Regions from separate parts of the Homo sapiens genome. Here region 2 is linked to region 1. Evidence: promoter capture Hi-C in 16 types of primary human blood cells and fetal thymus (Javierre and others, 2016). All regions are on one chromosome and are shown on one strand. The core of a region is centred on a gene start or on the middle of the fragment in contact, and the rest is flanking DNA. Distances in the headings are between cores, read along the strand shown.

Region 1 (4,530 bases), core at 1,616-4,115:
TCTTGTTGCCCAGGCTGGAGTGCAATGGCATGATCTCGGCTCACTGCAACCTCCACCTCCCAGGTTCAAGCAATTCTCCTGTTTCAACCTCCCAAGTAGCTGGGATTACAGGTGCCCACCACCACGCTTGGCTAATTTTTGTATTTTTAATAGAGACGGGTTTCACCATGTTGGCCAGGCTGGTCTCAAACTCCTGACCTCAAGTGATCCACCCACCTCGGCCTCCCAAAGTGCTAGGATTACAGGCATGAGCCACCACACCCGGCCTAGTATTTTTTTTTTTAAGAGATGGGGTCTTACCATGTTACCAAGGTTGGTCTCAAACTCCTGAGCTCAAGCGATCCACCTGCCTCAGCCTCCCAAAGTGCTGAGATTACAGGCCTGAGCCACCATGCCGGCCCAACATAACTTTTATATGCACTGCAAAACAAAAAAATCCCTGTGACTCACTTTATTATGATATTGGCTTTATTGTAGTGGTCTGGAACCCAACCCACAGTATCTTCCAAGTTTGCCTGTACATTTTAGCTATCTATTATTAAACAACTTAGTGGCTTAAAACTACAATAATTTTATTTATTTGCTTGTAATTTTGCAATGTGGGCTCAAATAGCCTTTCTTTGCTCCACACGCAGTCACCTGAGGTGGCTCCAGTGGGCTGGAGAATCCACTTTTTAAATGGCCTTCTTCACGTGGCTGGCAAAAGTTGGTGTTGACTGCTGGCTGGGAGTTCAACTGAGGCTGTTGGCCCAAACCTCAGTTCTTCTTCACATGGTTGGTTGGGCTTTTCACAGGCAGTAAGTCTGAGAAGTCAAACTTCTAACACAGCAGCTGGCTTCCCCCGAATGCAAAAACAGAAGCTATCAGGCCTTCTTAAGGCATAGTCCCAAACTGGCATAACATCACTTCCAACGCATTCTACTATTGATTAAAGCAAGTGACAGGCCCAATCAGACTCAAGAGAAGAGAACTCCTAAAGGTGCAAATATTGGGAAGCCTGGTTCATTTGGGGCCACCAAAGTAGCAGTGTACTGTAAGATAGTCACCCTGCCAAGTGTTCTGTAGCTGTATATTTGTAATTACTTCTAATTGTATTGAGTTTTAAAAGTAATCTCTAAAAAAAAATCAGTGTTTCCATATCAAAAATCTATTGATGTTTATAATAGCATCCAACATATGCAAGTGTTAGCTCATACCACTAATTATTACTAAATCAGTATTATAGTTCTTTGCCTCCTATTTTCGCCATATCTGTCAGGTACATTCATAATCGTTCCAAATGAGCAGTCACTGAAATAATTTCAGGTTATTGTATCTTTCTGAAACTATAATTTGTTGTTTAGAAAGTAATCTGCATATTGAGAGACTTTGTAAGGGTTCAAACATAATCAAACTCCACCTTTCTGACCAGTAACTTTTTTCCCTGAAGATGAATGCTTTTAACTTCAAGAAACAGAACACCCAAGCAACAGACTTAGAGTCTAAACAGTAAAGACCTTTAATCATCTTTTTTTTTTTTTTTTTGAGATGGAGTCTGTCGCCCAGGCTAGAGTGAGGTGGCTCCACCTCGGCTCACTGCAACCTCCACCTCCCGGATTCAAGCGATTCTCCTGCCTCAGCCTCCCTAGTAGCTGGGACTACAGGTATGCACCACCACGCCCGCCTAGTTATTTTGTTTTTTTGTTTTTTGTATTTTTAGTAGAGACAGGATTTCACCATGTTGGCCAGGCTGGTCTCGATCTCTTGACCTAGTTATCGAGACCACCTCAGCCTCCCAAAGTGATGAGATTACAGGTATGAGCCACTGCACCCGGCCAAGACCTTTAATTAACTTACACAACAAAGTCTGGAGATAGGCAGTTCCAAGCATGGTACAGCAGCTCAATGATATCATCAAGTATTTGGGTGTTTTCTATCTTTGCCCTCAACCATCTTCAGCACGTGAGTTTTTCTTTCCTTTTTTTTTTTTTTTTTGAGACGGAGTCTCGCTCTTGTTGCCCAGGCTGGAGTGCAGTGGCACAATCCCGGCTCACTGCAACCTCTGCATCCCGGGTTCAAGTGATTCTCCTGCCTCAGCCTCCCGAGTAGCTGGGATTACAGGCGCCCACCACCACGCCCGGCTAATTTTTGTATTTTTAGTAGAAATGGGGTTTCACCATGTTGGCCAGGATGGTCTCGACCTCCTGATCTCGTGATCCACCCACCTCGGCCTCCCAAAGTACTGGGATTACAGACCTGAGCCACCGCGCCCGGCCTGCACGTGAGCTTTTCATCTGGAAACTTGTCCCCTCATGGTCAGTCCTCACACCACCCCACTTACAGAAGAAAAAAATGGAAAGGTGAAGTCTCCTCTGGAAGCTTCGTCTTTTTATCTGGGAGGAAAATATTTCCCAGAAGCTGCCTTCTTTTAATTTCTGTCAGACTCTAGACTACCCTCAAATTTCACTGGACCTGCGATTACAATATTACCTAGCAATAAGAATCAAAAGAATCGAACATCATTGAGTGGGAAAAATCCTCTGCAAGTACAGCCAAGCCTTTTCTGAGGCTATTTTTAAACTTACAAATCAGAGGACAATCGCGACATTAGAGGAAAATTACCCAGGTTTACGCCATCACTAACGATGATAGCTTACGATGATAGCTAACCCAGCTCTTCAACTTCCTTTCAATCTCCAGAAAAGGCTCTCTGCGTGCTAATGGTAACGTGGCTTTACAGATTTTTACCCACTTCAAATATGGCCGCCAAGCTCCGTTCTCTTTTACCGCCTGATCTGCGGCTACAATTCTGGCTTCATGCCCGCCTCCAAAAGTGCTTCCTCTCGAGGGGTTGTGGTTCTTACTGCGCAGGCGCAAAAGCAAGTCCTCTTCCGGGCAAAATGGCGATGGGACTAATGTGCGGACGCCGGGAGCTTCTGCGCTTGCTACAGTCCGGGCGTCGGGTAAGGATGCCCCGGGGCAGAGCACCGGGATGCTGCCCTGACCCAGTGAACCAGGCCCCAGGACAGCTCGTGCTAGGGGTATCAGCAGACGCTGACCTGCTCACCGGGACCTGAATGTCATGACCTCGGGTCATGTGAGGACGCGCTAGGGTTAGTCCCCGACACTATGGGCCCAGCAGCCCGGTGTCAGCTTCTGGAATTGGCTTGGCTCCTGGCGAGAGCACCTCGGCCTCGTTCTCAGGGCCCTCCGATGTGGGTCTGCGATAACTGAGATGCGGGGAACCCAGGTTCGAGCTTCGCTCTGCAGGCACCACCCGCTGCATGCCTTCGGGCTAGCGGTCTGCGCGCGGTGATAGCAATGTCCTCCCCTGTAGTGGCCGAGCTGCCTGCTTCTTGGGGAGTTAGCATAATGAATCCCGTTTGCACCCACGCGAGGACTTCTGCTCCCGGTAAAGGGGCTCCATCATCCTTTTACACGCTCAGGTCCACAGCGTCGCAGGGCCCTCGCAATGGCTTGGGAAACCGCTGACCACACGGCTCCTATTCCCAGCAGCCCCGTGCTGCTGTCGCCCACACTACCTCTTCCTTGCGGCTTCCGGCCCCCGCAGCCTCAGTACCTCTGCTATCTCTTTTGCAGAAGTCCAGGTAAGAGGCCTTTCGTTCCTGCAATATTAGGAGTGGTGTTTCCTGGTTGGTTTCATATTTTGTTTTGTTTGGGAGCAGGGGGAATATGGAGCAGAGTTCTTGTCCACGCTCCACACAGCTCTCCAAAATGATAGCATCTCTGCTTAGGATGGATTTTCAATTCAGTGGGGAAATGATTGAAAGTACAACAGGAGAGATGTTATATTTGGTTTTCTGAGCTGTTTTAAAGAAAAGCAATTGTTTCATGTTAATATATGGCAAAAATCATGATAGTGATATTCAAATGGCTGAAGTTTGGAAAACAGTGATAAAAGAAATAACTTCCCAGCATGAAGGGAAGTCATGGATTCTTACTCAAAGTAACTTCTCTTCCTAACTATTGATAAAAATGAGATGTCCTTTTTAAGCTTGAAATCTGCAGACACTAGGCTAACCTGGAAGAACAAGAAGTAGAGAGAACAGAACCCAGTACTGGTTATTATAAAAAGATCTCACTTGCTTTGTGTTCGCTACTGAATAAATATAATACAAGGCTTTCTTTCACACAGGTTCAGGCCCCTCCTGTTGTTGCTGCAACTCCCTCACCCACAGCAGTACCTGAGGTGGCTTCTGGAGAGACTGCAGATGTAGTCCAAACTGCTGCAGAGCAGAGCTTCGCTGAACTGGGGCTGGGGTCATACACCCCAGTGGGACTGATCCAGAATTTACTGGAATTTATGCATGTTGATCTGGGCCTACCTTGGTGGGGGGCCATTGCTGCATGTAAGGGGAATATACCCTGGACATGGGTTAGGGATTTAACCTCATAGATGGCAATTCTTTGAATGGATTCAGGAAGTAGTTGCAGAAGCTCTGGGGTCAGAAGAGCAGATGATTTCAAATGAGCAATAGAGGTTCATGATACCTAGATGCACTCTGCCTATATTTCTTAAAGAGCATTATA
Region 2 (4,612 bases), core at 1,957-4,456, 370 kb before region 1:
GTCATGGCCATTTCCAGACTCTCAGCCTTTTGAGTAGCCACATGGTACCTTGTCCTCCTAATAGGCTCTCAATGATGATTGAATACAAAGGCTCTAATTCTCTGTTGCATTGGCAGCTCCCAAGACTGGGTCGATCACAATCGTCCACAGCAGAAGACAGCGGTGCTGACGGTCAAATGAGCATCAGGGCACACAGCAGAAGGGGAGGGTCAGCCACTGTCCCTTCATGCCCATTTCAACAGAAAGCTTATTTATATGCAAGAGGTGTTCCCCTTCCAGACAGGGTTCAAGAGCACATTGGTCCCTGGAAACTTGAGCAAAGTCTTCACGGTTATAGAAGGGAGTGGCAAAGGACATGTAGGAGAGAATCAGTTCCACCCCATGCCTGCACATTTCATTTTCTGAAATGAAAAGCTCTCATACACTCACAGAGATCTGCACATACCCACACATGGAAATAGCATAAACAGCTACTCTTTACTGAGCAGTGACCACGTGTCAGGCACAATGCCTCGGGCTTCACATGCATCATCTCTAATCCTCATCGACGTTCTGGGTGTGGGAGTGAAGGCATCCCTGTTTTATGGATGAGGAACCTAAGGTCAGAAAGGCTAAGAAACTTTCTTAAGATTGAACAACTATGGTAGAAGAGCTACAATTCTAGATGGTTGGATTCCAAAGCATCATCTCTTAACCACTGTACTATGGGGCAATATGCTTATAAGCAAGTGCTTACTCTGTTGGAGGCACTGGGGTTATGAGATAGTGCAGGAAAGACATAGTTATTCACTTCGCAAAGCTTCATTTTTACCGCACACTCATGCACACAGTGCTACACACACACATGCAGAGTTACTATAACTGTGGTGTCTTCCAAGAGCCCTGTCACTAAGGTATCCTCAGTGTCGTACTCTCAGTCCTCCTGCACTTGAACCACAGTTTGAATTGTGCATAGGGTAAAGACTGAGGTCTTCTACAGAAAGGCCTAAGCTGCTTGAACTTTACAGACAATTATGTGAGCAATTCAACCTTTTATACATTATGCTGTAGTTACCCAGCTCCTGAACTAGTCATCAGGTATTTTATTTGTTTTTTAACGTGATCAGGAAGTTTCTCTGACTCATTTCTCTATCTTTGCAGAGGAACAAGGTAGGAGAGCAACAGGGGCAGGAACAGAGAGGATTTCAAGCTTGATGAAGGTTCAGTAAGTCAAGTCATAGGTCAACTAGAAGAAATAAAGCAGGGGAAGATTTGGGGTGGGGCTGAAGCTCCATTGTTTCCATGACACCATAAGATAAGTGGTGATCTAGGTGATCTAGGTGTGCAAAGGTGAAACAAAACGAAAGACGCAAACATTGTACTAGTTTCAGGTTTTGCCAAGAGCAGATTGGCTGCCAAGGCTACTTCAGCCTTGACTCATATAGATCCATGATCTGGGAGGCAAGACAGCGTCCTGCTGTGCTGGACATCTCAGTGACATTGACCCAACTGGGGGAACTCCCTGAGGTTAAGAAAACCTCCCTCCAAGGCTGAGTTAATGAACTACCTAGATGTAAGACAGGAGACTGAAAACATTTAAGTCCCAGGAAAAATGCAGACTTACCTTCTTATGACCTAGATCTCTTTGCAAATCTAATGAAAAAGGTTTGTTATGCACAAATGTTTCCCTCCAATTTTATTTCAGGAGATTTGTGCTCTTTCCTGGACTGCCCCTGAACCTGGAGGTAATAATTCTAGATCAAAGTCTCCCTAGAACCTTGAAAAGGGTGGACTGAGAAGACTGGATATACAGCTCTAGGCAACCAGTCCTCCACTGCCACCACCATGCTTTCTAATCTCCAGGGGAGCCTGGTCATCTTGCTGGACAATTGCTGTTTCTCCTGACAAAATCCAAGTTAGGAAACTGACAGGGTCTTTGTTTCTATTTCTCTCTATGCCTATCTCTCAAGGTGCCCTGTCATTAATGAATCTTAATCCTCACTTTTATTTCTCAACTCTGGCTCCCAATTTCTGTTTTCCCACCCCTCATCTGGGGGAGCCACCCGGAACCCCCTCATTAATCCACAGACAGCCATCTCAGGACTTCATGCTAAGAATTCATTGTTTCCCACTTTCCTGCATTTGAACACTGGAGGGCAATGCTGGACCAGCCAAAGCACTCTAGGTGCTCCGCTCCATCTTTGTCTCAACCTTGCCTGTCATTTCAGGAAGCAGCCTCTGGTTGGAAGCCAAAACCAAGGACCAGTGGAGCGCCCATAGGCTAGCAGAACAGCTAGGTCTATTACAGCATCTCCCCCACACGGGATCATAGGAATAAAAGGTAGCTCACGGAAAAGCACATCTGGTTTCATGGGTGACACAATCCCCTGGGAAAGAAACTGAGCGGGGTGCTTGCCTAACTGTGTCATTAACCAGAAACAATCTGTGTCTCTGACTAGGGGATGCAGATTCCTACCTGTCTTCACTCACTCAGATGTAAGCCCCTGGAGGGTAATGTCTTAGTAAGGTCTGCATTCCTGTAGCAAGCACAGTGTTTGGCAACAAATACTTGCTGGATGAATAAATGGATGAATGCGTGTATGGATACATATGTATAAAATGGAACTGGCCATTTTCAGATTTGTTGTTGTTTTCTAGCTCTTATGACACCCAAAGTTTAAATCATTAATCAGTTGCTGAGCATTCTTAGTCTTAAAGACAACTAAGGATGGTCAGGTGGTTAATTAAATCAGTGGTTGTCATTGTACAAATGTTATTTCAAACACCACTTCAAGAGTTTCAGGTCTCTTATTTTTAGGAAGTCCTTCATTGTGTCATCCATGTGTCCTCAGACCTCACCAGCCTGTGGATTACAAAATACAGACACTATTTCATTAATATTCAATTTACAAGAACCTGCGGGCTCATCATGTGGAATATTGAGTATCCGTGATGTCCCCAAGTGATTTGTGGGCATTTCATGTGCCACAGTGGGTCCCCACGGGGCTTGACAGTTCCATGGAGCCAGAGCTCTTCTTCAGGCCATCTTTCATCATCTTGTGAGACTTTTCTCCAGGCTGCTCTCCCCTCTACCTTCACCACAATGGATCCCATGTCAGGTGGACATGGTCTACTCTCTTAATCATTCAAAGCACTGCTAAATGTTTGAGGAAGAAAGAAGAGCACATTTTGAGACCCAAAACCCAACTTGAGACTCTTTCTACCTCCAGGCAGGCTTACGCATAGCAAAGACCAGCTCAAGGCGCCCGGTAGAAGTCTGCAGGCATCTCCATATCTCCAAGTGCAGAGAGCAGAGGAGATTTTTTCTTCTCAGTCCAAGACTAGTTCTTTTCCTGCCCTGGGATGATTGACAGTGAGAAAAAACATTTCCTCCAGGGAAGCGCTCTACCTGCCCCTCCACCTTCTCAGACGGGGCCCGACCTTCATGACCCCGACAAAGCAAACCTGGTGCTCAACTGTCTTATTAGATCTTCTAACACTATGTGTGTGACATCAACAGCCCTAACTAAATTCACACTTGGGAAAAATATGCCCCTCATTCTAACTAAACAGACACCATTTAATTTTCCTAACAGAACACTTACTATTTTGATGCACGACACCTGTTTTCAGTTTTATGATAACTTCATAATCTCCAATACAATGAGTGAGTGTTTATTTGAAATGAGAATAACCTCATTCTCAACTAGTTTTCTCAACAGAAGAAGAGTGCTCAAAGTTCATCTAGGGTCTTTACCTACAGAAATTCAATGCTGTCAGCAATCTTCAAGGAGCAGCTCTGCCAAAGGAAAAAGAAAGAAAGAAAAAAGGAAATCCTGCTTTTATAAGTTATCCCTATTATTAAAATTTCTAACAAATCTCTCCCTACAGTTCAAACCTAGGTCCCCAGAGTATATGGGCCTCATCCTTCTCATAAAAATGCTGTTAAAAAAAAAAGGTGTCCTTTGACACCTTTCCTGAGTGCAAACAGAGATTGAAAAAAATCATTCTAAAATAACATTTTTCTGTCACTGCCCAATGGGAGGTGAGTTGATCATAGGTGAAGCATGTCCTATTAGTATGTCTTGCTCAGGATGCCTTTGGTGTGAGTAAGGGATGGGTTTCTAGGGCAAAATCTCTGTTCTATACCCGCAAAAAACAATGTACAGAAATTTCCCTAAGAGAGGAGATTGGCAGTCAATACATAAGACTCCATAGGCAGGAAGTGTCCAGGGTCAGCTCCCTGCATTCAAATACAGACCTGCATCAGGGCTGTGATTTCCAGGTCCAAGGCTCGGTGAGTGGATAATACCTAAGGCCTGATGCCAGGCCTGATGTCCAGGTTTAACACTGATGGCAGGCCACAGACCCTCCTGTCTTGGGATTCCAAAAAGCCCAGAATCTTTCCCAGTTCCTACTGACACTAACTTTTGCCCGGGCAAGAAGTGTCTGAGATTGCTTCCCTTGAGACCATAGTCCTTTCTTATAATTCCAAAACTAAGCAGCCCTGTTTATGCTGCTGTGGCAGAGCATGGAATCTTGGTTAGTCCTTCCAAACTGCACCCATTGGGTTATCCCTGGGGAAATGATCACATTACGCTACTTTGTTGAACACTGAGGACTCCAATAAGGA

The links. The method cuts DNA at HindIII sites, captures the fragments that hold promoters and counts their contacts. A CHiCAGO score of 5 or more calls a contact.
Region 2: a fragment that was not itself captured here is called in contact with the fragment with the promoter of OXA1L in region 1 in 3 of 17 cell types (endothelial precursors, total B cells and naive B cells); the score reaches 8.1 in endothelial precursors.

Annotation. Positions count from the first base shown.
Region 1 is chr14:22,763,823-22,768,352 of GRCh38, forward strand. It overlaps OXA1L (OXA1L mitochondrial inner membrane insertase), which reads left to right and starts at 2,866. Exons shown (of 10, transcript NM_005015.5): 1 at 2,866-2,942; 2 at 3,426-3,587; 3 at 4,136-4,349. The coding sequence starts at 2,880. OXA1L-DT (OXA1L divergent transcript) reads right to left here and starts at 2,740. Exons shown (of 3, transcript XR_001750638.3): 1 at 2,602-2,740. RefSeq lists enhancers at 1,461-2,024, 2,025-2,587, 2,588-3,151, 2,745-2,974. The HindIII fragment of the contact is 1,636 bases long and covers 2,357-3,992 here.
Region 2 is chr14:22,389,895-22,394,506 of GRCh38, forward strand. All of the region lies in intron 2 of TRD-AS1 (TRD antisense RNA 1), which reads right to left. It also overlaps TRA. Among named protein-coding and RNA genes, the nearest start is that of TRD-AS1, 91 kb to the right of the region's middle. The HindIII fragment of the contact is 4,039 bases long and covers 1,188-4,612 here.